Linked DNA regions of Homo sapiens: all the other regions are linked to region 3. Evidence: promoter capture Hi-C in human tissues and cell types (Jung and others, 2019). All regions are on one chromosome and are shown on one strand. Each heading gives the region's core, a stretch centred on a gene start or on the middle of the fragment in contact. The rest is flanking DNA. Distances are from core to core; before and after follow the strand shown. Region 1 overlaps SRL (sarcalumenin). Region 2 has its middle 13 kb from the start of ADCY9. Region 3 holds the start of TRAP1 (TNF receptor associated protein 1). Region 4 overlaps ADCY9 (adenylate cyclase 9). Region 5 has its middle 51 kb from the start of ADCY9. Region 6 overlaps ZNF174 (zinc finger protein 174). Region 7 holds the start of TIGD7 (tigger transposable element derived 7).

What was found. Contacts are between HindIII fragments. The study calls those that stand out against the background at their distance.
Region 1: a fragment that was not itself captured here is called in contact with the fragment with the promoter of TRAP1 in region 3 in 2 of the 25 tissues and cell types used here (aorta and mesenchymal stem cells).
Region 2: a fragment that was not itself captured here is called in contact with the fragment with the promoter of TRAP1 in region 3 in 3 of the 25 tissues and cell types used here (adrenal gland, dorsolateral prefrontal cortex and lymphoblastoid cells).
Region 4: a contact is called between a fragment that was not itself captured here and the fragment with the promoter of TRAP1 in region 3, in 3 of the 25 tissues and cell types used here (dorsolateral prefrontal cortex, liver and lymphoblastoid cells).
Region 5: a contact is called between a fragment that was not itself captured here and the fragment with the promoter of TRAP1 in region 3, in 4 of the 25 tissues and cell types used here (IMR-90 fibroblasts, hippocampus, lymphoblastoid cells and 1 more).
Region 6: a fragment that was not itself captured here is called in contact with the fragment with the promoter of TRAP1 in region 3 in 1 of the 25 tissues and cell types used here (lymphoblastoid cells).
Region 7: the fragment with the promoter of TIGD7 here is called in contact with the fragment with the promoter of TRAP1 in region 3 in 1 of the 25 tissues and cell types used here (small bowel).

What each region holds. Positions count from the first base shown.
Region 1 is chr16:4,213,683-4,217,737 of GRCh38, reverse strand. All of the region lies in intron 1 of SRL (sarcalumenin), which reads left to right. Among named protein-coding and RNA genes, the nearest start is that of SRL, 26 kb to the left of the region's middle. The HindIII fragment of the contact is 4,807 bases long and covers 94-4,055 here.
Region 2 is chr16:4,127,795-4,131,606 of GRCh38, reverse strand. It overlaps the pseudogene DBIP3. Among named protein-coding and RNA genes, the nearest start is that of ADCY9, 13 kb to the right of the region's middle. RefSeq lists an enhancer at 1-267. The HindIII fragment of the contact is 5,808 bases long and covers 1-3,812 here.
Region 3 is chr16:3,716,067-3,719,590 of GRCh38, reverse strand. It overlaps TRAP1 (TNF receptor associated protein 1), which reads left to right and starts at 2,067. Exons shown (of 18, transcript NM_016292.3): 1 at 2,067-2,170. The coding sequence starts at 2,083. RefSeq lists silencers at 1,717-2,326, 2,347-2,466. The HindIII fragment of the contact is 28,184 bases long and covers 1-3,524 here.
Region 4 is chr16:4,097,367-4,101,455 of GRCh38, reverse strand. All of the region lies in intron 2 of ADCY9 (adenylate cyclase 9), which reads left to right. Among named protein-coding and RNA genes, the nearest start is that of ADCY9, 17 kb to the left of the region's middle. The HindIII fragment of the contact is 5,701 bases long and covers 1-4,089 here.
Region 5 is chr16:4,166,041-4,169,568 of GRCh38, reverse strand. No RefSeq gene overlaps it. Among named protein-coding and RNA genes, the nearest start is that of ADCY9, 51 kb to the right of the region's middle. The HindIII fragment of the contact is 3,313 bases long and covers 552-3,528 here.
Region 6 is chr16:3,402,937-3,406,794 of GRCh38, reverse strand. It overlaps ZNF174 (zinc finger protein 174), which reads right to left. Exons shown (of 3, transcript NM_003450.3): 2 at 2,147-2,369. Among named protein-coding and RNA genes, the nearest start is that of ZNF174, 3.7 kb to the right of the region's middle. The HindIII fragment of the contact is 3,410 bases long and covers 259-3,668 here.
Region 7 is chr16:3,303,171-3,307,241 of GRCh38, reverse strand. It overlaps TIGD7 (tigger transposable element derived 7), which reads left to right and starts at 1,812. Exons shown (of 2, transcript NM_033208.4): 1 at 1,812-2,030. It overlaps ZNF75A (zinc finger protein 75A), which reads right to left and starts at 1,745. Exons shown (of 7, transcript NM_001302109.2): 1 at 1,599-1,745. RefSeq lists an enhancer at 1,722-2,251. The HindIII fragment of the contact is 22,904 bases long and covers 1-4,071 here.

The DNA of each region.
Region 1 (4,055 bases), core at 1,248-3,747, 500 kb before region 3:
TTATTGAAATGCTTCTGAGCACCACCTGATGTTTAAAACGCTCTGATGGGGCTGGCAAAGCAGGTATTGTTATCTACATTTTATGGGCGAATAAAGTTGTGTGCAGAGGGAGTAAGGAGCAACCCAAGGTTACTTCGCTGGGTAGTAAGACAGCGGGGGGTGGGGGCGCCAGTGGTAAGACAGCAGGGGAGGGGCCAGTGGCTCACGCCTGTAATCCCAGCACTTTGAGACGCTAAGGCTGGAGGATCGCTTGAGCCCAGAAGTTTGAGACCAGCCTGGGCAACATAGTGAGACCCTGTCTTTACAAAAAATAAAACAATTAGCCAGGCATGGTGGCGCGTGCCTGTAGTCCCAGCTACTCTGGAGGCTGAAGTGTGACAAGTAGGAAGGCTGCAGTGAGCTTTCGTCACACTGCTGCACTCCAGTCCAGGTGACAGAGCAAGACCCTGTCTCTAAGGGACAGGGTCTGTAAAAAAAGAAAAAGAGTAAGGGGCAGAACCCAGCTTTCCTGACTTCCAGGTGCATTCAGAGAGACCAGCCACTATCTAGGAGGCTGGAGCCTCAGCCCCAGGAAGAAAGAAAAGGCATAGCCGTGGGCCTGGCTCAGGCTAGGGAAGGTGTCACACCCATTTCCCAAGCTCCCACGTTTCTCAAGAAGATTCCCTCCAGCTTCCCTGGATTGGGGATGGGGTGGGCCCAGATTCCTTGACCCCTTCACCTGCCAAGCTGGAGATGGCTCTGACTTTAACCCAGGATAGCTGTTAGACTGAGACCTGCGGGAGCCACGCTCCCTTGGCTTCCAGTAAGTCTTTTCCTGTCTGGGGCCCAAAAGTTAGACCAGCACCTCATCCCCACAGATCCCAGGGAGATTGGATTTCTTCGGACTGGGATGTGGGGGGAAGCCAGCCACCTGCCTTGGTCTGTCTCAGAACCCAGCCTGCATCCCTTTCCCCTTCCTTTCCCTTTCCTCCCCAGCTCGGCCCCTCTGAAGGGAGGCAGCAGGCCCAAGGCCTTCTGCAAGGATTTCTGTTCACTGCAGGCACGGCTGATCTCTGGAAAAACTGAGTGCTCTATAGAGTATCCCTGCTAGTGATTGACTCATACTGAGGGGTTAGGATATAATGTTTTGCTCTTTCTGAGGTATTTGTCTTTTTAAAGTGAATAGTGGCTGGGCATCGTGGCTCATGCCTATAATCCCAGCACTTTGGGAACTTGAGGCGGGTGGATCACTTGAGGTCCAGAGTTTGAGACCAGCCTGGCAAACGTGGTGAAACCCCATCTCTACAAAAAATACAAAAATTAGCCGAGTGTGGTTGCGTGCACTTGTGGTCCCGGCTACTCAGGAGGCTGAGGCAGGAGAATCGCTTGAATCTAGGAGGCAGAGGTTGCAGTGAGCTGAGATTGTACCACTGTACTCCAGCCTGAGTGACAGAGATGCTGTCTCAAAAAATAAATAAATACATAAAATAAAAATAAAATAAAATAAAAGTGAATAGTCATTTATACTGATGACTCCTCCAGGCATCAGTGACAAGCATGTATATATATGATGGTTGTGGGATTTCTGGTAATTTCTTTCTACCTCCCAAACCAAGAATTCCCAGGAATTGGAGGTGGGGTGAGGAGTGAAGTTATTCTGTCAATTCTCAGGACTCTATGGGTTAAAAACAATTGTGCTGAAGTCTTAATCCTTTTTTTTTTTGAGACAGGGTCTCCCTCTGTTGCCTAGGCTGGAGTATAGTGGTGTTATCAAAGCTTATTGCAACTTCAAACTCCTAGGCTCAAGAGGTCCGTCAACCACAGCCTCCCCAGTAGCTGGGACCACAGGCGCACGCTACCATGCCAAGCTAATTTTAAAATTTTTTGGAAAGATGGGCCAGTAGTAAGACAAAGCAAGTAGTAAGCAAGACAGAGGTCTTGCTTTGTTACCCAGGCTGGTTTCAAACTCCTGGGCTCTAGGGATCCTCTCACCTCGGCCTCCCAAAGTGCTGGGATTACAGGTGTGAGCCATGGGCTCTCAGAGCCACTGCGTCCAGCCTAAAACAGTTGTTATTGAAGAGTAGAAGAGGGTGGGCTAAGAAATCACTGTCCTAGGGTAGACTTAGACCCTCTTATTGGCTGGCCCACTGCTGGGAGAGCGTCCATAGAGAGCTGAGTTCTAGAAGCAGACTGCTGCCTACTACCTTAACTAGCCCCATGGCCTTGGGACAAGCACTTACCAGGGTTTTGGGGTTTTGTTCATGAGTGAAATCAAGCCAGTTGGTCTATCAGAAGATCTCTCTGGACCCCCAAATCCCAAGGTTCTTTCTGATTGCTACCTTTGTCATTGTACCCTGTCATACTTTTGTCATTGTATCTGATTCCCTGGATGAATCATTTTAAGGGCTAGAGTCCAGCCAGGGACAAGCTGTCCCAGTGGGATTAGCCTTGACTTTAGGAGCATGGCCAGGAAGCCAAAGAAGCCTTCCAAGAATGGCTGCCTCAGCCCCTGCACTCTGGTCGCCCATGTTGGGAGAAGAGGGAAAGGCTGAGAGAATGGCAGAAGAGGACCTCAGGGGTCCTGGGAGAATGCAGACAAGCCTTCCTCCAGCCAGAATTTCTCTTCTCGGGTCCTTATGGGCAACAGCCTTCTGCAAAGTTGTCCTAAGACTTCATCTAAGAAGTGGAAGAGGCCGGGTGCAGTGGCTCATGCCTGTAATCCCAGCACTTTGGGAGGCTGAGGCGGGTGGATCACCTGAGGTCAAGAGTTTGAGACCAGCCTGGCCAACATGGTGAAACCCTGTCTCTACTAAAAATACAAAAATTAGCCAGGAGTGGTGGCAGGCACCTGTAATCCCAGCTACTCGGGAGGCTGAGGCAGGAGAATCGCTTGAACCCAGGAGGCAGAGGTTGCAGTGAGCCAAGATCGCACCACTGTACTCCACCCTGGGCGACAGAATGAGACTTCGTCTAAAAAAAAAAAAAAAAGTGGAAGAGCAAGGGGTCCTGAGCAGTGAATGTTTACCCAGTAGGATAAAGTCAAGGAAAAACAGGACACCAGAAGAGGCTGCTGGCCCACGTTTGCCCGGTCCACGAGTGTTCAGAGACAAGATCTAGAACAAGGAAGGGGGCAGGCTGCCTGCTCTGCGGCATGAACTCTGTTTTCTGAATTGCTCCCTGCTGCACTTAATATACAGCCAATGAGAGCCAAAACGTGGGGCGGGGGGTGGATGGGGGCAAGACATGGGGCTCACATGTATGCCATGGCTGGTGCTCCTCACTCTCTGGGACAGATGAACCAGGCAGAGATTTGGAGAGTGATTCCTGCCCCCGCTGGGGATTCTGTTACTAATGACTGATTTGCATAACTGTGTATGAGTAATGGTCAGAGGTATTTTACTTACGCATGACTTTGGACTTGCTAGCTCTAGTTCAAATGGATGAGAAGTCATGTGGAAGAATAACCTTGGCAGGTACTTGTTATAAACATGTGCTAAGGAGACTTGGACGGGCTGGAATAGAATCTACATTTGATTGCACGAAGGCACTGAATACATTCAACACCCAGAGGTGGGCTGAAAACAGGTCCTGACCTCTATTCTCTCCATCTCTAGTTTCAACTTCAAGACAGAGCTTCCTGGCCCTTGGTACTGAGGATGGCTAGTGCAGAGGGTCCGAAATGCTGGTGTTCTGTAGAATCCCCTTGTGAAACACACAGGTACACGTTGACCCAGCCCCAGAAGCTGGGTATCTGGGCTTGAACAGCTCAGCAGGTCATGGTCGCTCCCAGGGAGCTTTGTTCTGTCTCTTGGCCTGAGTTCCAGCCCATCCCTGGAATGACTTGTGAGGCAAACGACTTGACTTCCGTGTGTTTGTTTCCTCATTTCAAGAGAGGTTAACAACCCTTGCTTTTTCTGCCTCAGAGGGCTGCTAGGAGCATCAGAGAAGAATAAGCACAGGAAACTACCTTGGAAAGATGGAGTCCTACGTGAGGGCAGGAGATGACCCAGCTGAGAGCCTGGCACGTGTGGACTGGCAAAGTGAAAATATGCTGTAAGCGTGGTTCACACCTGTAA
Region 2 (3,812 bases), core at 94-2,593, 410 kb before region 3:
GCAGGTCCTGACTGTGAGGGGAACACAGGCGAGAGATCAGCTCTTTCATCTTGGGGAAGTGAATGAAAGCCTCACTTGGCAGCTTTTCTTGGAGTCATTCCCGCGATGAATCCCATCTCAAGAACCTCATATTCCCATCCCTGAAGATTCACGGCTAGAGAGGTACATGCAAGAGGGGTAATTGTGCAGGGTGAGGGGTGTGGTGGGGAGAGCCAGAAAAATGACTGTGCAGTGGAAGTAGAAAAAGATATTTTTAATTTAAAGTAACAAATACCCTTTTTTTTTTTTTTTGAGATGGAGTCCCGCTCCGTCCCCCACGCTGGAATGCAGTGGTGCAATCTCGGCTCACTACAACCTCCGCCTCCCAGGTTCAAGTGATTCTCCTGCCTCAGCCTCCCTAGTAGCTGGGATTACAGGCGCACATCACCACGCCTGGCTACTTTTTGTATTTTTAGTAGAGACGGGGTTTCACCATGTTGGCCAGGCTGGTCTCAAACTCCAGACCTCGGGTGATCCACCCGCCTCGGCCTTCCAAAGTGCTGGGATTACAGGCGTGAGGCACCACAGTCAGCCACAAATACACTTAATTGATCTCAGATAAAAACTACTGAGGGAAGGTCAGTAATCGTTTTAGCCCCTAATCTATTAGAACTTTATCCTGAGTAGCCTTGAGGATGGGTTAGCTGATTCTTTCCATCAGTTCCCACCATCCACAGTGTTAGAAAAAACAAGGCATTGTCTCAGTTTAGGACAAAGGCATGGCTGGCAACCAATTCCAGTCTCTCGTATTCTGAATTTTTTCTTTAACTCTTCTACTTTGTTGACGTAAGCTTTAGCTTTCATGGGATCTTCCCTGGCAGCCCCTTTCAGCTAATTCCAGGGATCTCACTTGGCTTTGCCCTTGAAGTCCACCATCCTGGGCCGTTCTGTCTTTATGTTGCCTACAGTCGCTCGTTTGTAGTGGCCGTAGAGGAACCGCATCTCATCATCTGCTGGCTTGGTCTTAAAGTGCTTAATACCCTGCACATCTTTTTTTTTTTTTTTTTCTTCCCAGCTCAAGTGATTCTCCTGCCTCAGCCTCCCGAGCAGCTGTGATTACAGCTGCATGCCACCCATGCCCGGCTAATTTTTGTATTTTTAGTGGAGATGGGTTTTGCCATGTTGGACAGGCTGGTCTGGAACTCTTGACCTCACATAATCTGCCTGCCTTGGCCTCCCAAAATGCTGGGATTACAGGTGTGAGCCACCACACCCAGCCCTCCACAGCTTTCTGAAACTCAGCCTGAGACTGGCTTGCAAGGACTCCAGGGAGCCAGCGGAGGAGGCAAGGAGCAGGAAGCGATTACTAGGACTGCACTGGCAAGTGCCTTTAGGAGAGGCGCAGCCCCACGCTCTCCAACCCTGCTCAGGAAATAGAAATTTAAAAATAGTGTTTCTCAGGCCAGGTGCAGTGGCTCATGCTTGTAATCCCAGCACTTTGGGAGGCCGAGGATGGAAGACCACTTGTGTCCCAGGAGTTGGAGACCAGCCTGGGCAACATAGTGAGACTGCGCCTCTTCCAAAAAAAAAAAAAAAAAAATGCTGGGCATGGTGGTGTGCACCTGCAGTCCCAGCTACTCAGGAAGCTAAAGTGGGAGGATTACTCGAGCCTGGAGAAGTTGAGGTTGCAGTGAGCTGTGATCGTGCCACTGTACTCAGCCTGGGTGACAGAGTGAGACTCTGTCTCAAAAAAAGTAAATAAATAAATAAATAAATAAATAAATAAAAAGCTTTCCTTGCAGGGGCAGAATTTGGAATGACTTTCATCCTGACCTTTCAGCCTGGCCCTACCTACCGACCCCTTTGCCTGCTTGTCTAGCCCTGCACCTCTGGCTTGGCCACTTATCTGCCCGGGCCACACCACGTGCTGTTTCTCACAATGCACCCTGCTCCCTGGCCCACAGTGCCTTTCTTTCTGGAACTCTTTCCTCTTAGCCCCATGGCTGCCTGGCAGGGTCCTACCACCTCTTTCAAGACACCGTTCTCACCCTTCCTGTATCAAAGATGCTTTTCCAAATCTGCTCTGTCCACATGAACCTCCTGTCTTTCTGCACTCTCCCGGGTGCCTTTCTAATAACACTCACCATGCCTGCTCCGTTCTGAGCTGCGGGAAGTCTGTGCGCTCTAGGAAGGCAGGTGGTGGTTGTTTTCCACTTGCATGTTCTTAGGCTTATGATTTTATTTTCATTATTATTATTTAGAGACAGAGTTTTGCTCTGTTGCCCAGGCTGGAGTGCAGTGGTGCAATCATAGCTCACAGCAGCCTCCAATTCCTGGGCTTACTTGATCCTCCTGCCTCAGCCTCCTGAGTAGGTGGGGCTATAGGCAGAAACCACCAGACCTAACTAAGTTTTTTTTGTTTTGTTTTGTTTTGTTGTTTTTTAATTTTTTAGTCCGGGCACAGTGGCTCATGCCTGTAATCCCAGCACTTTGAGAGGCTCAGGTGGGCAGACCACTTGAGGTCAGGAGCTCGAGACTAGCCTGGCCAACATGGTGAAATCCCATCTCTACTAAAAATACAAAAAATTTAGCCAGGCGTGGTAGCACACGCCTGTAATCCTAGCTACTTGGGAGGCTGAGGTTGGAAGGATGGCTTGAACCCAGGAGGCAGAGGTTGCAGTGAGCAGATACTGCACCACTGCACTCCAGCATGGGTGACAGAGTGAGACTCCATGTCAAAAAAAACAAAAAAAAAATTTAGCCGGGCATGGTGGCACACACCTGTAATCTCAGCTACTTGGGAGGTGGAGGTTGTAGTGAGCCAAGATGGTGCCACTGCACTCCAGCCTGGGAGACAGAGTGAGACTTTATCTCAAAAAGAAGAAAAAATTTTTTTTTGTAGAGATGGAGTCTTGTGTTGTTGCCCAGGCTGGTCTTCAACTGGCTTCAAGCAATCCTCCTGCCTCACATCCCAAAGCACTGGGATTATAGGCATGGGCCACCATGCCCAGCCTATTATTACTAATTGTGGTAAAATACACATACCAGAAAGTTTACCACCTGGATTAGCTTGTTAGGGCTGCTATATCTAAGTATTGGTGATGAGGTGGCTTGAACAACAGAAATGTATGTTGTCACAGTTCTGTTGTCACTGACAGCACAGTGTGGACGGGGTTGGTTTCTTCTGAGGCCTCTCTCCTTGGCTCATAGATGGCTGTCTTTTCTGTGTCTCCTCACCATCTTCCTTCTGTGCCTCTGTATGTCCTAATTTCCTCCTCTTTTTTTTTTTTTTTTTTCGTTGAGACGGAGCCTCACTCTGTTGCCAGGCTGGAGGGCAGTGGCTTGATCTCGGCTCACTGCAACCTCTACCTCCTGGGTGCAAGTGACTTTCCTGCCTCAGCCTCCCCAGTAGCTGAGACCACAGCTACTGGCATTCACCACCACACCTGGCTAATTTTTGTATTTTTAGTAGAGATGGGGTTTCACCATGTTGGCCAGGCTGGTCTTGAACTCCTGACCTTGTGATCTGCCTGCCTCTGCCTCCCAAAGTGCTGGGATTACAGGCGTAAGCCACTGCACCTGGTCCCTAATTTCCTCCTCTTAGAAGAATACCAGTCATATGGGTGGTATTCTTAAACACCTGACCTCGTGATTAAGACCACGAGGTCAGGTGTTTAAGACCAGCCTGGCCAACATGGTGAAGCCCCATTTCTACTAAAAACACAAAAATTAGCCAGGCATGGTGGCATGCGCCTGTAATCCCAGCTACTCGGGAGGCTGAGGCAGGAGAATCTCTTGAACCTGGGAGGCGGAGGCTGGTGACAGAGTGAGAC
Region 3 (3,524 bases), core at 818-3,317:
CTTCACCTCCTGGGTTCCAGCGATTCTCCTGCCTTAACCTCCTGCGTAGCTGGGATTACAGGCATGCGCCACCACGCCTGACTGATTTTTTGTATTTTTAGTAGAGACGGAGTTTCTCCCTGTCAGTCACGCTGGTCTCGAACTCCCGACCTCAGGTGATCTGCCCGCCTCAGCCTCCCAAAGTGCTAGGATTACAGGCGTGAGCCACTGCTCTTGGCCTAATTTTTGTATTTTTAGTAGAGATGGGGTTTTGCCATGCCGACCAGGCTGGTCTCAACCTCCTGACCTCAAGTGATAAGACCACCTTGGCCTCCTAAAGTGCTGGAATTACATGCGTAAGCCACCATGCCAGGCCACCTTTGCAGGTCTTTTCCTGATCCTGAGGGTCTAGGAATTTTTAACGGTCTGAATAAACAATATTTGCGAAAACATTTGCCATCTATTACCTGTAAGGGTGGTCATCTATGAGACTTCCTCTACATAATAAGAACCTTGGTCTTCACAACCTGTTTTTTGTTTGTTTGTTTGTTTGTTTGTTTTGAGACAGGGTGTGGCTCTCTTGCCCAAGCTGGAGTTCAATGGCACGAACTTGGCTCACTGCAACCTCTCCCTCCTGGGCTTAAGCAATCCACCCACCTCAGCCTCCCTTGTAGCTGGGATTACAGGCCTCCGCCACCACATCCGGTACAGGTATGTTTGGTACAGACAGGGTCTCACCATGTTGCCCACGCTGCTCTCCAACTCCTGACCTCAAGCAATTCGCCCACCTCGGCATCCCAAAGTGTTGGGATTACAGGTGTGAGTCACCGTGCTCGTGCCCACAACCCCTTATCTTCACCCAGACACTCTTTTTATTGATTCCAGGTCTGTATAACTCAACTCTTTTTTTTCTTTTTTTTGTTTTCTTTTTTTTTTTTTTTTGAGACGGAGTCACAGCTCTGTCGCCCAGGCTGCAGTGCAAGTGGCACGATCTCGGCTCACTGCAACCGCAGCCTCCCGGGTTCACGCTATTCTTCCGCCTCAGCCTCCCCAGGAGCTGGGACTACAGGCACGTGCCACCTTGCCCAGCTAATTTTTTGTATCTTAGTAGAGATGATGGGTTTTCACCATGTTGGCCAGGCTGGTCTCGGACTCCTGACCGCAGGCAGTCCGCCCACCTCAGCCTCCCAAAGTGCTAGGATTACAGGCGTGAGCCACCGCGCCCAACCAGAACTCAACTCTTTTAACCAATTGCCAATCAGAAAGTATCTGAATCCACCTATGACCTCTAAGTATTTCACCCTTTGAGTTGTCCTGCCTTTCCACACGGAACCAACCTATGTCTTACATGCATTGACTGATGTCTTATGTCTCTCTAAAATGTATAAAACCAAGCAAGCTGTAACCCAAGCACCTTGGGCCAAGTTCTCAGGACCTTTTGAGACTGTGCCTCCCTCCATGCACACTCATATTTGGCTCAGAATAACCTTCTAAATACTTTAGAGTTTGACTCTTCTCGACAAGGACAAGAGAAGTGGAATAAACGAATAACCGCAGTTTTCCTGGTGGTATTGGTCACTGGGTTCAGGTTTTGGAGTAGTAGCCAGTCAAGCCTGGAATCCCCTTCCTCATTCGCTTTAGCTTTTTGTCCAGTCTTGGTTTGCAAGAGACTTGCAGCGGCCTAGACGGATGGCCGGGATTCACAAAGGTCGCAGACACGGGAACTGCTTCTTCCCCAGCGTCGCCTCCACACCCTCGCGTGGATACTGACATCCGCCCCATTCCAGGAATGCGCACAGCTAGGCGCAGCCGGCCAGCGTGGGCCGGGGGCGGCGGGGCCACCTCCCCCACCTCCGCGCGCAAGGCCCGTCGCCCTTGACAACGCGATCCAAGGTCACGGAGGTCCCACCCCCAGGCCCGACCGTCCACGAGACGGGTAGTACCCCGCCACGCGCCCGAGCAGGCAGCTGCCCGGACAGCCCGGCGCCCGCCGTGACGTCACCGCCCCGCGCCCGAGGAAGCCCCGCCCCGCGCAGCCCCGTCCCGCCCCTTCCCATCGTGTACGGTCCCGCGTGGCTGCGCGCGGCGCTCTGGGAGTACGACATGGCGCGCGAGCTGCGGGCGCTGCTGCTGTGGGGCCGCCGCCTGCGGCCTTTGCTGCGGGCGCCGGCGCTGGCGGCCGTGCCGGGAGGTGAGGGCGTCCTGGCTGGACGGGCAGCGGGCGGGCCGGGCCACGGAGACGGCAGGGACGTCCCTGTGCTCCGGGGAGCGAGGCGCCGGCACCTGCTTCACAGGCGTGGGAGGTCCGGCGAGGCCAAGCGCGGCAGACGCGTTTACTTTCGCTCCGCTCCTCGCCAGCTCCAGCTTGGCTGCCTTTTCCTCGGCTGGACTCCCCTCGCCACCCGCCCATGGGAGCCCTGAAGGAGGCTGGGTCTTGGGGGGTCGCGGGGTCGGGCGGAGCGGCTGCGGGGTCGTCCCTCCTGGAGCTTCGGTCCAGTCAGGTAGCGCACGTGCAGGTGGAGCCGCTGCGGAGCGCGGAGTCTTTGCGGGTGCATGTTGCGGGGAATGGACTCACTCGGGGTGATCGTGCTAGTTCCATGGATCGTGCTTTACCCCTCCCCGCCTCCCAGTAGCGCACTGAGGGTTCATTTGTTAATTCGTTCATTGGACGCACATGTGAGCGCCCGCTCAGTGCCCGGCGCCGTGCAGGTTCTGGGGACGCCACAGTGAACAAAACCTATAGCAGTCATCCGGGTCCCCAGAGCAGGTGGACTCGATGTCGTTGACGCAGCTGTGTCCTCGGGGCCTGGAATTGATGGATGCGCCAATAAATGTTTGTAAAACAGAGAGAACGACCCTAACCTCTGCTTTCCCAGTCCCCACTCGGAGGTAACAACAGTGAAAGTTTCGGCATTGCTTCGGGGCTGTACACAGTGTTATACGTGTAAATATAAATGTCTGCGTATAAGTATTTTTTATTCTAAAAAGCCTAAACCATGTATGCATTGTGCTACGTTGTACTTCAGAAAATTTTAACGCTCCCAGCATTCTTTCCACATCTTTTCATGTCAGTGTATACAGGTCCATGTGCCTTCCAGTGACCACACAGTATTCTGTATGATGGACGTGTCATTTGTTTAAACATTGTCCTATTAGTGGACGCAATAAAGGTTATTTCAGGTTTTACTTTTTATTACAATGCTGCATAGAATGGGTGAGTACTTAAATATTTGTTCACGTGCGGTATTTCTTTAGCCTTACATAATTAGAATTTTAGAATTGATATTTCAGAGCCTATGCATTTTTGAAATGTTAGCAGATACTGCCAAATTGTCCAAAAAGGCCTTATCAATTTATATCCCCTTTAGCAGGCATCAAGACTGCCTATTCCAAAGGTATTTTCTTCAACGCTGAATCTTATGTCTTTTCAAAACCAGTGGTCTATAAAAGATACCTTGTGGCCGGGCGCGGTGGCTCACGCCTGTAATCCTAGCACTTTGGGAGCCTGAGGTGGGCAGATCAGGAGTTCAAGACCAGCCTGGCCA
Region 4 (4,089 bases), core at 1,429-3,928, 380 kb before region 3:
AATAAATAATTAGCCGTGCATGGTGGCATGTGCCTGTATTCCAAGCTACTTGGCAGACTGAGATGGGAGGATCGTTTGAGCCCAGGTGGTCGAGGCTGCAGTGAGCTGTGATTGCACCACTGTACTCAGCCTGGGTGACAGAGCAAGACTCTGTCTCAAAAAAAAAAAAAAAAATCACCTGAACAAATATTGTACTAGACTTCCTGACTGTATTACAGATAGGGTTGAGATGATCTCTATTTTATAGATGAGAAGACTGAAGCACAGAGAGGTTAGGTAACTTGTGATGATCACACAGCCAGAAAGGGATACTAAATGGTGGAGCCAGTATTTAAACCCAAAGGCTGTATTAGAAAACACTAGTACCCATCTCACAGAATTGCTGCGAGGATTAAATGAGAAAATACAAGTTCTTAGAAAAGTTCTTGGCACATAATACCTGTCAGTAGAGAAGAGCTAGTGTTACTGAAAGTTGGAATAATTTTCTTAGCAGTGGCAGCAACAGCCAAAACAACGATACCTGTCTTTAGCTCTCTGCATTTACCCTGCTGTCATGTACCCTGCCCTCACGTATCCTGCTGTCTCAGCCACTGTGAAATCCTAGGATCCTGGGAGCCGTGTGTGTTTAGATGCTTTTATTTGCTTGGTTCTTTCCCTTTCTATACCATTTACAGACTGAGTTTGTTTTTTTCTTTTCTTTTTTTTTTTTTTTGAGACAAGAGTCTCACTCCTTTGCCCAGGTTGGAGTGCAGTGGCATAATCTCGGCTCACTGTAGCTTCCACCTGTATCAGACCATTCTAACACTGCTATAAAGTTGCTACCTGAGGCCAGGTGCATGGCTCACGCCTGTAATCCCAGCACTTTCGGAGGCTGAGGCGGGCGGATCACTTGAGCTCAGGAGTTCGAGACCAGCCTGTCCGACATGGCAAAACCCCGTGTCTACTAAAAATACAAAAAATTAGCCAGGCGTGGTGGCATACGCCTCTAATTTCAGCTACTTGGGAGGCTGAGGCAGGAGAATCGCTGGAACCTAGAAGGTGGAGGTTGCAGTGAGCCCAGATCGCGCCACTGTACTCCAGCCTGGGCAACAGAGTGAGACCCCATCTCAGAAACAAACAAACAAAAAAGATGCTACCTGAGACTGAGTAATTTATAAAGAAAGCAGGTTTAATTGGCACAGTTCTGCATGGCTGGGGAGGCGTCAGGAAACTTACAATCATGGCAGAAGATGAAGGAGAAACAAGGCGCATCTTAAATGGTGTCAGGAGAGAGAGAGAGTGAGAGAGAGAGCATGCGAAGGGGGAACTGCCACTTTTAAACCATCAGGTCTCGTGAGAACTCCCTCACTCTCACGAGAACAGCATGGGGGAAACCACCCCCATGATCTAGTCCCCTCCCACCAGGTCCCTCCCTCGACACATGGGGATTACAATTCAAGATGAGATTTGGGTGGGGACACAGAGCTAAACTATATCAACCTCCCAGGGTCAAGTGCTCCTCGTACCTCAGCCTCCCTGTGACTGCACATGTGCACCACCACGCCCAGCTGATTTTTTCAAATTTTTGAGAGAGACAGGGTCTTGCCATGTTGCCTAGGCTGGTCTCAAACTCCTGGGCTCAAGCCATCCTCCTGCCTTGGCCTCCCGAAGTGTTGGGATTACAGGCGTGAGCCAAGGCACCCAGCTGAGATGGTTTCTTAACGTCCTCCAAAGGTGATTTTTTTCAAGAATCAATATAAACTCTTGGATTTTAGCTTATTTGATGTATTTCATTCCATTACAGATACATGATTTTTGATGCTCAGATTGTCCCATTTGGGGCCCATGGGAGCCCCTTTAAGTTGGCTGCTGAGTCCTCTTCATGCAACCCCAGTGGTCTTTGATAACTTTCATACCCTTTTAGTAACCTTTTTAAAGAGTTGAGAAATTATAGGTATTAAAATCTCATTAATTCTGTTTGTCTGATATGTTTATTCAGAGAGACTGAGCTAAAGTTTACCCTCATCTTTTTTGAAAAGAAAATGAATAGTATATGCATGTTTCTATGAGGAAATAATGCCACCCAAGAAACGGTTTGTGCATCTTCGAGTTCCTTGGAAGCTTTAATTTGCATTCCTACAATTGAGAGCAATGTAGAATTTCTTTCTGTATCTTCCCACTAATGCCTGTTGAGGGGCAGGTGTCTGTGAATGTAGGTAAATCGTGATAAAAAAACAATAAAAAGGCCGGGCGTGGTGGTTCACGTCTGTAATCCCAGCACTTTGGGAAGCTGAGGCGGGTGGATCACTTGAGGTCAGGAGTTTGAGACCAGCCTGGCCAACATGGGGAAACCCTGTCTGTACTGGAAATACAAAAATTAGCCGGGTGTCGTGGCGCACACCTGTAATCCCAGCTACTCGGGAAACTGAGGCAGGAGAATTGTTTCAACCTGGGAGGCAGAGGTTGCAGTGAGCTGAGATCACACCACTGCACTCCAGCCTGGGTGACACGGTGAGAACTCTGTCTCCAAAAACAAAACAAAGCAAAACAAAACAAAACCAAAACAATAAAAAAAAATCCCAAACCAAAATGTAGATGACCTGTTTGCAGACTGAGGAGTCCTGCAGCAAACTCCATCCCCCAGGACAGCTGCGGAATGTTCTAGAAGGCCCAACTCTAGGAAATCCCTTAGTAGGAGCCTTGCTCTCAACAGTGCCTCCTGGAACGATGGGCCGGCCACTCTCTTTTCCATCTTGCATCATATGTATTTGACTTATTTTGTTTATAATCTGTTTCCACGCCACTGGAATGTATCTTAAGAGCAGGAATTTTCCATGTTTTACTTCCTGCTGTGTTCCTAGTGCTGGGAATATAGCCAGGCATATAATACATGCCTGATAATATTGGCTGAATGAATGAATGAATAAATGAATGAATATTACAGGCCAGACACAGTGGCTCATGCCTGTAATCCCAGCACTTTGGAAGGCCGAGGCGGGCGGATCACCTGAGGTCGGGAGTTTGAGACCAACCTGGCCAACATGGTGAAACCCCATCTCTACTAAAAATACAAAAATTAGCCGGGCTTGGTGGCGTGCACCTGTAGTCCCAGCTACTCGGGAAATTGAGACAGGAGAATCACTTGAACCCGGGAGGCAGAGGTTGCTGAGATTGCACCACTACATTCCAGCCTGGGTGACAGAGTGAGATTCTGTCTCAAAAAAAAAAACCAAAAACAAAAACAAAACAAAACAAAAAATCCCAAACCAAAACGTAGATGACATGTTTGCAGACTGAGGAGTCCTCCCCCAGCCCAGCAAACCCCATCCCTCAGGACCGCTGTGGAACATTCCAGAAGGCCCAACTCCAGGAATTCCCTTAGTAGGAGCCTTGCTTTCAACAGTGCCTCCTGGAGCTATGGGCCAGCCACTCTCTTTTCCAGCTTGCATCATATGTATTTGACTTAATTTTGTTTATAATCTGTTTCCACGCCACTGGAATGCATCTTAAGAGCAGGAATTTTCCATGTTTTACTTCCTGCTGTGTTCCTAGCGCTGGGAATATAGCCAGGCATATAATATATGTGTGATAATATTTGCTGATAAATGAATGAATAAATAAGTAAATATAAGCCTGGTATGGTGGCTCATGCCTGTAATCCCAGCACTTTGGGAGGCCAAGGCAGGCAGATCAGCTGAGGTCAGGAGTTCAAGAACAGCCTGGCCAACGTGGAGAAATGCCATCTCTATTAAAAATACAAAAATCAGCTGGGCATGGTGGTGGGCACCTGTAATCCCAGCTACTCGGGAAGCTGAGGCAGGAGAATCTCTTGAACCCAGGAGATGGAGGTTGCTGAGATTGCGCCCCTGCACTCCAGCCTGGATGACAGAGCAAGACTCTGTCTTAAAAAAAAAAAAAAAAAATATATATATATATATATATATATATGTACATATGTATTTATACATATATATAGTGTGTGTGTGTGTATATATATATATATATATATATATATATATATATGTAACTCCACATGTGAGTACCCTGTTATGTGTGAAACCACACCCCAAACATCTACACAGAACAAGCCTCCAGGTAGAGGAAAGGCAG
Region 5 (3,528 bases), core at 959-3,458, 450 kb before region 3:
AAGAAGAAGGTGAAGTCATAGAGGAGCAGGGAATTCCCGCCGACAGGCAGTGTTTGCCCAGGGCCAAGGGAGTGGGAGATACCCAGCAACAGAGGACGGTACCCACTGGGGCTAGGAAGGCTTTCTAGACGGGGAGGAGATGTGTGAAGAAGACAAAGTTAGTCATGGAGACTCCCCTCTGCCGCCGAAATGTCTTCTTTTGGTAACTGGCCCCAGTTAGGAGACTGTATTAGTTTTCTGTTGCTGCGTAACAAATGACCACACAATGTGGCAGCATAAACCAGCATCCATTTATCATCTCACAGTTCCATAGGTCAGAAGTCCAGGCAGGCTCTACCAGGCCCCCCGCTCAGGACCTGGAAAGGCTGAAATCAAGGTGTGAGGGGGCCAGGCACTCATCCAGAAGTTCCAGGAAAGAACCCACTTCCAAGCTCATGGAGGTGGGGGCGATTCCATCCTTTCAGCTGTAGGTTGAGGCCCCCGTTTCCCTGCTGGCTGTCTGCTGGGTGCTGCTCTCCACTCCTAGAGGCCACTCTCTGGTCCTTTCCTTGTGGCCCCTCCATTTCCAATCTAGCAACAGTGCATCAAATCCCCCTCCTATTTTAAGTACCTGACTTGCTCTTCTGTTACCACCTGGAGAAAACAGTCTGTTTTTTGAAAAGAAAATTTCGGCTGGGCATGGTAGCTCACGCCTGTAATCCCAGCACTTTGGGAGGCTGAGGTGGGTGGATCACCTGAGGTCAGGAGTTTGAGACCAGTCTTGTCAACATGGCGAAACCCCGTCTCTACTAAAAATACAAAAATTAGCCAGGCGTGGTGGTGTGCAACTGTAGTCCCACCTACTCGGGAGGCTGAGGCAGGAGAATTGCTTGAACCCGGGAGGTGACGGTTGCAGTGAGTCGAGATCTCACTACTACACTCCAGCCTGAGCGAGAGTGAGACTCCGTCTCAAAAAAAAAAAAAAAAAAAAAAGTGGAATCCAAGATGATCAGCAAGTCTAGAGGATGGGGAAGAAGATGGCAGGATCATTAATAGAAATATAGTCATGCATCGCTTAATGATGGGAATACGTATGTTCTAAGAAATGCATCCTTAGGTGATTTAATCATTGTACAAGCATCACAAAGTGTTCTTACACAAACCTAGATGGCACAGCCTACTACACACCGATGCTATATGGCAAGCAATACAAACCTGTACAGCAGGCTACGGTGCTGAGTACTGTAGGCAATTGTAATGTAATGGTATGTATTTGTGTATCTGAACACATCTAAACATAGAAAAGGTACGGTAAAGATACTGTATTATAAGCTTATAGAGCCACTGTTGCAGGCTGGGCGTGGTGGCTTATGCCTGTAATCCCAGCACTTTGGGAGGCTGGGATGGGCAGATTGCTTGAGTCCAGGAGTTTGAGACCAGCCTGGGCAACATAGTGAGACCCCTGTCTCTACAAAAATACACAAATTAGCTGGGCATGGTGATGCATGCCTATAGTCTTAGCTACTCGGGAGATCGAGGTGGGAGGATTGCTTGAGCCTTGGGAGGTCGAGGCTGCATTGAACTGAGAGTGTGCCACACTGCATTCCCACTCCAGCCTGGGTGACAGAGTGAGACCCTGTCTCAGGAAAAAAAAAACACCGTTGCATACGCAGTTCATCATTGACTAAAACATCAGTATGCAGTGCATGACTGTAAATCCCAGGGCTAATTCCGTGGTGACAGGAAGGGCACCAAGTTTCTGTGTGGATTTCAAATATTCTGTATCCTCAGGCTTTGTTAATCCATGTCTTTTGTCTTCAGAGAAGTCAGTTCCATCAGCAAGGAGCCGTCAGGGCCACCCAGCTTTATGCCTTGACTCCTGGTTACTGTTTTGAGGCCTAAGAACAGCTGAGACCCTGCACGTGTTAAAATCCAAATGGGGTGAGGGTGAGGGGGTCAGAATCACCACCAGCCAATGTCAGCATCTGGAGCTGAATACAGAGACCCCTCTTGGCCAAATGTTCCGGGCAGCATCCATGTGCAGGTCGGGTTGACTTTTTGGACGCTGCCTAGGAGCTCACGCAGACGGTCACACTGCAATGTCGGTGGGGCTGTGAGCAGTCATGGCACCTCCGCAGCTGTTCCTGGGCCTATCTGCTGCAAATTAGATCATTGGTCATTCATATTTTTCCTTCCCTATCTCTCTTTACCCATTCTGTTTCCAACAGGTGATGATAATAAAGGTGGTTTCATGGAAAATATGGGATCTCTGTAAAGACAAGACCCCGATCTGCGAGTGTGGCTTGCTAAGTTGGGTAATTTATCTGTTGACACGCTTCTCAGTCACTTTTTCACCTTGGTTTCTCCAGATGGCTGGGGCTTGATCACTCAGAGGAGGAGGGAACTTCTTTGTGGTTCTGTTCTTGCCCATCTCAACACAACAGTCGACATCAGACACATAATCAAGAGCTTCAGCAGGAGGGATGGCCAAGTTGGATGCTTTCCATCAGGGCCATTCCAGCTGTGATTCTCTGTGCTGTGGGAATCTGGTTGAGAGGGACATCAGAGAGATGACAGCGAGGAAGGAACCTTTTATACTAGGTGTTAAGGGATGGCTGGGACTGGATTAAGTAGACAGGAGAAGGGAAGATCTTCCAGGCTTGGTGAGAGCTGAGCAAAGCCATTTGGGTTTGAATCAGCATGGTTTATTTACGGAGTGTGAGGCGGCTGGCTTGGACCATGGGAGGTGTTGCTTCTTAATCTAAGAAAATGGGCCAGGCGCGGTGGCTCAGGCCTGTAATCCCAGCACTTTGGGAGGCCGAAGCGGGTAGATCAGTTGAGGTCAGGAGTTCCAGACCAGCCTGACCAACATGGTGAAACCCCATATCTACTAAGAATACAAAAATTAGCTGGGTGTGGTGGTGCATGCCTGCATTCCCAGCTACTTGGGAGGCTGAGGCAGGAGAATTGCTTGAACCCGGGAGGCAGAGGTTGTGGTGCACTGATATCACGCCACTGCGCTCCAGCCTTGGCAGCAGAGCGAGACTGTGTCTCAAAAAAAAATAATAATTTTAAAAAAAAGAAAAAAAAGAAAATGACTCCCTGCCCTCCACTCTTCCTTCTCCCTTATATTAAAGCTTAGGATTTCTGAACTTTTGCCCCTTCCTAGGGGTCCAGATGAATTGTAGGGAACCACCCTTTCTGGCTTGGCGTCAACCTCAAGGGCACATCTGTGGGATGCTGTTTTCCCTTTAAGTTTACTCCTTGCCTCCCAGTCAATGTCCTTTCCCTTGCCCTTACCTGTTTGCTTTAAAAAGCACTATTTTTTTTTGTTGTTGTTCAAGCGATTCTCCTGCCTCCTGAGTAGATGAGGATTACAGGCGTGTGCCACCACACCTGGCTAATTTTAATATTTTAGTAGAGACGGGGTTTCACCATGTTGGCCAGGCTGGTCTCGAACTCCTGACCTCAGGTGATCCGCTTGCCTTGCCCTCCCAAAGTGCTGGGATTACAAATGTGAGCCACTGGGCCCAGCCAATTAAAAAGCAC
Region 6 (3,858 bases), core at 714-3,213, 310 kb after region 3:
AAAAATAGATAAATTAGACTGCAGCAAAATGAAAAACGTGTGCGTCAAAGGACACTGTCAAGAAAGTGAGACAACCCACAAAATGAGAGAAAAGATTTGCAAATTACACATAAGGGTCTAGTATCTAGAATACATAAAGGACTCTTATAAAAAATAAAGACAAATAACCTAATTTAAAAATGACCAAAGGATCTGAACAGATATTTTTCCACACAAGATATGTAACTGGATAATAAGCACATGAAAAGATGTTCAACACCATTAGTCACTAGGGAAATGTAAATCAAAACCTCAAATCAAAATTTCTCACCGAATAGGATGGGTATAAGACAATAACAAGTGCTAGCAAGAATGTGGAGAAATCGGAATCCTCACACAGTATTGGTGGGGATGTAAAATGGTGTAGCTGCTTTGGAAAACAGTCTGGTAGTTCCTCATAAGTTAAACATGGAATTACCACATGACCTAGCATATGGTAATTCCACTCCTAGGTATATACTCAAGAGAAATGAAAACATGTCTACACAAAAACACACATTTATAGCAGCATTCTTCATAATAACCAAAAAGTAGAAACAACCCAAAAATCTATGAACAGATGAACCAACATGAACAGAAAACCAACATGTAATATATCCGTACAATGCCTATTATTCAGCCACAGAAAAGGAATGAAGCACTGATTGATGCTACAGCATGGATAAAACTTGAAAACATGCTCAGTGAAAGAAGCCACACACAAAAGACCACATATTGTGTGATTCAATTTATTTATTTATTTATTTTTGAGACAGGGTCTTACTTTGTCACATAGGCTAGAGTGCAGTGGCACGATCTCAGTTCACTGCAGCCTCGACCTCCCAGGTTGAAGTGATCCTCCTGCCTCAGCTCCCCCAAGCAGCTGGGATTACAGGTGTGCAGCACCATGCCCCGCTAATTTTTGCATTTTTTGTAGAGACAGGATTTCGCCATGTTGCCCAGGCTGGTCTCGAACTCCTGAGCCTAAGTGATCCGCCTGCCTTGGCCTCCCAAAGTGCTGGGATTACAGGCGTGAGCCACTGTGCCCGGCCTGTGTGATTCCATTTGTATAAAATGTTCAGAATAAGCAATTCTAGAGACAAAAAGTAGACTGTGGTTGCCAGGGGCTAAATGTTTATGTTCCTCCAAATTCATATGAAATTCTAACTCCCAAGGTAATAGTGTTAGGACATGGGGCCTTTGGGAGGTGATTAGGTCATGAGGGTGCTGCCCTCACTGGAATGGGATTAGTGCCTTCATGAAAGAGCCCCACGGGAGCCTGTCTTCCCCTTCTGCCACATGAGGACTGAGAAGTAGGCAGTCTGTGACCTGGAAGAGGGGCCTCACTGGAACCCAACCATGCTGGCACCTTGAACTCAGACTTCCTAGCCTCTAGAACTGTGAGAAATAAACTCCTGTTGTTTATAAACTACCTAGTCTCTAGCATTTTATATTAGCAGCCTGAACAGACTAAAACACGAAGTACCTCATTGGATGTAGCAAATATTAAGAAACTGAGGATTTTTGTCGTCTTGTAACCCTCCTCCCTAACGTGCTCACTGTATCTTGTATTCACATCACCAGGCTTGGCCAAAATGTCACTGTCATTCAGGCTTAGAGATCACAGGACTGTGTAGAACAAGGCCAGCAGTTACACAAGTATCACACCAGAGAAAGGGAAATAGATTTGAGGATCTAAAGTACAAGCAACATCACAGAGGAGGACAAAGATATAAGATATAGGGTGGGTTTTTATTTCTACCAGGCCCCTCTAAACAGAGGAGCATTTTAAGCAATGAAACTCAGCCATAGCTTGCATGGAAGTTCATCTGTGGCCATATTTGGATCTGTCTTTTCTATAAGAAGTTCTGAAACGGACAGAAAAGTAGGTACAACCCTGTCATGCACTGGATTCTTAAATTTTCATTAACAGAAAACGATAAAAACATACTTACTTGTAGTATCACCACCATCCTAATTAGTGAAATTTGTTTAGTGAATAATCATCTACTATTATATATAACATTTAAAAAAACACACACATGTGGTCTATGCCTTTGCAGAACCATGAGATACATTGATGGAGATAAAGGGCTGATGAGAGGGAGAGAAAAGGCAGAGTGTTTACCTGTCCCAGCCAATTTGGGGGTTGGTTCTTGGAGGAGTGGGGATTTCTCCCAATGATGGGGGCTCAGCCGGTCATAAGCTCCTGCCTGGGAAGGCTCTGCTGGAGAGCTCTCCCTGAGATCTCTCCTAGGAGTCTGCGGTTGAAAGTCTGGCAGTTCCTGTTCTCCAAGCTGAGATCCAGTTTTCTCCAAGAGCACCTTTTGCCCCTGCATACAAACGGCCACCTAGGAACAAGCCCCATCCATTAATTCCATCCATCAGGACTGAGGGAAGCTTGATCTCTCACTGTTGTATAATGACCCGTTTACCTTGGGAATTGCTGATAACCATCTAGAGGTCAACTTTCATAGAAACCACTGAAACCCTCAAAGGAAGTAAAGGGGAGAACGTGAAGAATGACAGGAATGAGGATGCTACAAATCAGCCGAGTGGCTTCCCCTAAAGCTTGGGCCTTTCTCAAGGGCCAGAGTCAAAGTCATCAGGGTAGTTGCTGGCACAAATATCAGGGTCAGTCACAACACTGGGCCATCAGATGCCTACTCTACACACCACCCCCCACCTACTTCTGCTGGAAATAGGCCCTGTAGGAACAGGAAGCAGTATGGTGAGGGGCTGTTAAAAGTCCTTCTTACCTAATACATTGTTCTGCCAAAGGCTTTCCTGGTAAGGAGATCCCAGTAGTAGTAGGGGTCTAAGAGGACCACCCCACCTTCATTCCCTAACAAGTTCTATTTTCCGAAGTACCTGCCGTTTGCTTCTTGCCTAGGTCCTGACTGGGGTCTGACTTCGGGGCGGGGAGTGGCAAGCAATGGCAACGCTGGCCAGTTGAACTGTAACTTCCTGATCCAAAGACAATAAGCTAGTCAGGCATTGTGTGGCTCACTCCTGTAATCCCAGCACTTTGGGAGGTCAAGACGGGCGGATCGCCTGGGCCCAAGAAGAGTTCAAGACCAGCCTGGGCAATGTGGAGAAACCCTGTCTCTACAAAAGTACAAAAATTAGCCACGCATGGTGGCATGTACCTGCAGTCCCAGCTACTTGAGAGGCTGAGGTGTGAGGAACACTTGAGCTGGACATGGAGGTTGCAGCGAGCTGAGATCGTGCCACTGCCCTCCAGCCTCAGCAACACAGTGAGACCCAGTCTCAAAAAAAAAAAAAAAAATCAAAGACAAAAAGCTAGGCCAGGTGTGGTGGCTCACGCCTGTAATCCCAGCACTTTGAGAGGCCAAGGCGGGAGGATCACTTGAGGTCAGGAGTTCGAGACTAGCCTGGCCAACATAGTGAAACCCCCTCTCTACTAAAAAGTACAAAAATTAGCTGGGCGTGGTGGCAGGCACCTGTAAACCCAGCTACTCAGGAGGCTGAGACCTGAGAATCGCTTGAACCTGGGGTGCAGAGGTTGCAGTGGGCTGAAATGGCACCACTGCACTCCAGCTTGGGAAACACAGCAAGACTCCATCTCAAAAAAAAAAAAAAAAAAAAAAAAAAAAAAAAAAAAAGACTATAAGCTAAACACTGGAAAGACAATAAGCTAGAACTTCCAATGAAATGAAGTTCCCCAAAGTCCAACTGCTACCCAACAGGGTGACCCTATCTGCTAAGAATTCTGCTAGTAGGAAAACTAAGTTGGGTGGGGGAAGAGCTGACAGAAGGGATTTAAGAACCTTACAATTACTTCTGGTGACACAAGGTGCATAAAGGAATGGTAAGAAC
Region 7 (4,071 bases), core at 563-3,062, 410 kb after region 3:
CCGTGGCTCATGCCTGTAATCCCAGCACTTTGGGAGGCCTGACGTGGGTGGATCACCTGAGACCAGGACTTCAAGACCAGCCTGGCCAACATGGTGAAACCTTCTTTATTGTAAACACAAAAATTAGCCAGGTGTGGTAGTGCGCGCCTGTAGTCCCAGCTACCCAGGAGGCTGAGGCAGGAAAATTGTTTGAACCCGGGAGGTGAAGGCTGCAGTGAGCTCAGACTGTGCCACGGCACTCCAGCCAGGGCAGCAAAACGAGATTCCATCTCCAAAAAAAAAAAAAAAAGTTATTTAAAACTTATGAACTGTTTATTTCTGGAGTTTTCCATTTAATATTTTTTGGATGGCAGTTGACAGCGGGTAAGTGAAACCCAGATACAGTGGGGGGAGGGGGTACTACAGAAAGTAAAAAAGTAGCCTATTTTCAGACAATGTCTCCCAAGTAAGCAACAAGATGCTCATCATTCTTTGCAACACACATAAAGGGTGCCATGCAGATGATTTATACGAATTTTGTTTTTTTTTTTGAGATGGAGTCTCGCCCTGTCACCCAGGCTGGAGTGCAGTGGCGTGATCTCAGCTCACTGCAACTTCCACCTCCCCGGTTGAAGCCATTCTCCTGCCTCAGCCTCCCGACTAGCTGGGATTACAGGCGCGTGCCACCATGCCCGGCTAATTTTTGTGTTTTTAGTAGAGACAGGGTTTCACCATCTTGGCCAGGGTGGTCTCGATCTCCTGACCTCGTGATCCACCCATCTTGGCCTCCCAAAGTGCTGGGATTACAGGCGTCAAACACCGCGCCAGGCCTATATGAATTTTTAACTGTGCTTACTTGATCTGGAGAAAATTACAGCTGACCTCTGTTTACAAAATATCAACTTGTAAAAAAGGATATTTTATTTACAAAATATCAAGTCGTATTTTCTTTCTGTCGCTGATGTTTATGAAATATCAACTCCAACAGGAGTTGGTGACGATGAAAGTGAAACTTTCTGCTGACTTTGTATTTCTCCAAAGGTCATTTAGACTTCTAAGGGGGGCTGAGGAGAGCCGTGAGCCTCACTTTTCCTGAAGTGAGCCAGCAGAAACGGCACCGAAATTCTGCCCAGGATGCCACCGGTATTCAAAGAAGTGGCCAGCTCCTTGCTGCCCACCCCGGTTCCAGAAGCAAAGAGACACTTCCTATGTTTTTGCATCAGTAGAAGCTGCTAGCCCTGAGGCTCAACCGACCGCATGACATCGGCCGGACACGGAAATGCCGGCGGAGGCGGGAAAGAGTCTGCGGGCGCAGCTGCAGGCACTGCTGCCCGCCAGCACTCGGATTCGCCACAGCCTGTGTCTGCGACAGGCGTGCCCGTGGGCACTGGGCAAGCGGGCAGTGTCCCAGCGAGCTTCAGCCGCGCCTCTGGGATACAGCTGCGAAAAGCGGGGAGAGAATGGTTTCTCGTGCCCGACGGTGGCCCCGCCTCAGGCTCCAGCCGCGCGGCCCGGAAGCGCCGCGGCCACCGCCTACGGAAAATGGCTGCCTCCCTGCGGCCGCCGCCGCTCCAGCGGCTCCAGGGTCGAAGCCATAGGGGAAGCCGCTTCTCGGTTACCTCGGCCAGCTTGGCTTCCGTGGAGGCCGCTCCTCGCTTTCTGAGGCTCAAACGCAAGCCACCGCCCGAAAGGCCGCCGATCTGAGGAGCGCAACCGCCAGCCCACCGCTGGCCTACCGCAGCCCTGTCCAGGTACAGAGCCAGAGCGCCGGCCGGAAGTGGAAGTGACGCTTTCCGAGGGTGGCGCAGGCCCGCCCTCTGGCTAAGGCGCCTGAGCCCGGCCTACTTCCTCGCCAGAGAAACTGCTGTCTTCCCCGGCGGTAGGGAAGGGTTAATGCCACCGAGTATCCAGACCCGCTGAAGCCTAGAGGGCCTTGTACCGGCTCACCGCGTGGCTGTCGCTGTCTCGTGTCCCCAGTGGGGGAGGCGTCGCACTGCCGCGTCTGTTCTGCGTGGCTGTCGGGCGGCGTTTGGTCCCGGGAGCCTCGCCGGGTAAGGGTCGCCTCCCAGCTGCGCGCGCCGCGTTCTCGGGCTTCCCGCGGCCCGGCCGGCCGTGCTCGAGCTGTTGCTGGGCTCGTCGCCGCCTCCTCGAGGAAGAGGCATTTTGTCCGGGTCGGGCCACTCGCTAGGTCAGAAACAGCGGCCCCCCGAGGGTTTTGTACCGTTTTCTAGGTCTCGTGACGCATTCCCCACAACTATTTTTTCTTGAGGTAGGTTTGAACCTGTGAAATAGGTTCTTTTTCTATCTCTCCTTGACAGAGAAACGGAGACCTAAGAAGTGACTTGCTCAGGGTCACATAGCTCAGCAGTGGCGGCCGCTAATCGGAAATAGCTCTCCTGTTGTGGTATCCTCTGCGTTTTCCACTCCAGTATTCTTCCCTGGAAAATGGGAACCTTGTTTTCATCTTATATCTCATGCAGCGCCTAACATAGTCACCTGGTAAGATAGGCATTCCACACATATTTACTGAATCATAGTTATAAGAATCTGAGTGTTTTGGGTGTTCAGTGATCTCTGAATTAATCCGTTTTTGTAATGTCAGTCTGTACCAGTTGAGGGATTATTTAATAAGTCCAGTATGAGTGGTTTCGGAATTACCAGTTTTTGTAACGTCAGCTTATACCAGTCAAGGGACTATTTATTAAGTCAGCTATGTGTAGCCAATATTGCAGAGTTGAGTAAGAAGTCTTTGTCCTTAAGCAATCTCTTGAAAGGACTGAGCAATTTCGTGAATATCAGTAACACAAGGGTAAGAATAGGACATAAACTGAATGCTGTGAGAACTCCAAGAAAATCCAAGTTGATTTGGGGTTGGGGGAAATTATAAAAGACCTTGAGGGATTTTGTCCACAGCAGGGAATGGAGACACTTTCCAGGCAGAGGGAAGGGTAGGAGTAAAGGCTTTAAAAGCTGGAAACATTAGACTGTGAGATCTTAGGTACGTTTTTACTGAGTTGGGCTGCATTTAGAGGAAGAGTTTTAAAAGTTAGAAAACGAGTTTATGTGGCACTTATACTGGAGTCCTTTGAATGGGAATGAAAAGAGTGCATTTAAGAAAGTAAATCCTGGCCGGGCGCGGTGGCTTACGCCTGTAATCCCAGCACTTTGGGAGGCCGAGGCGGGCGGATCATGAGGTCAGGAGATCGAGACCATCCTGGCTAACATGGTGAAACCCCGTCTCTACTAAAAAATACAAAAAAAAATTAGCCGGGCGTGGTGGTGGGCGCCTGTAGTCCCAGCTACTCGGGAGGCTGAGGCAGGAGAATGGCGTGAACCCGGGAGGCGGAGCTTGCAGTGAGCCGAGTTCACGCCACTGCATTCCAGCCTGGGCGACAGAGCGAGACTCCGTCGCAAAAAACAAAACAAAACAATACAAAAAAGTAAATCCTGGAGCACCATTTGAGCGTTTTGGACTGAGCTGCTTTCTATGGCAGTTCATCTAAGGTAAGTTTAAGGTGAGAATGAAGATGAGAGGCCATTACCAGGCCATTATGCTATTTTTGCTTTTGGATGGGATGGTATGTAACTCCTCTTAGGCATAGATCTTGATCCTTTTTAAGTGAGAGAGAAAGATAAACAGATTTAATAATGAGCATCTGCCTAAGTCACTTGAATTTGTGTCTAAGTAGGTTCATTTCCTTAAAATCTCAGCCAGGTTGGGACTTCATTTCTTCAGCAGTAAATATTCTCAGTCTATCAGAACCAGTGGACAGTAGCGCCATCAGCATTAAGATTCTCATCACCTGGCCCAATGCTGAATATATAATTAGAATTTATTAAGTTGAATAAGTGAAGTTCTGCTAGCAGTGCTAAGCAGTGCCCTTGGATATCATTGACAGGCCTGATTCATAACACAGGAAGTTGGTTAAAGGGAAAAGGGATTCATGGGAAAAAGAGGCAGCAAGGCACAAATTGTGAATAGTGAATAAGAGGCACTGGTGATTTTCATTGTGTGAGGTTTGCTGCCATAGTGGCTTATCCTTTGAAGCCCACAAACATTCCTTGAGCCTTTCCTTTTGGTTTCACCTCCCC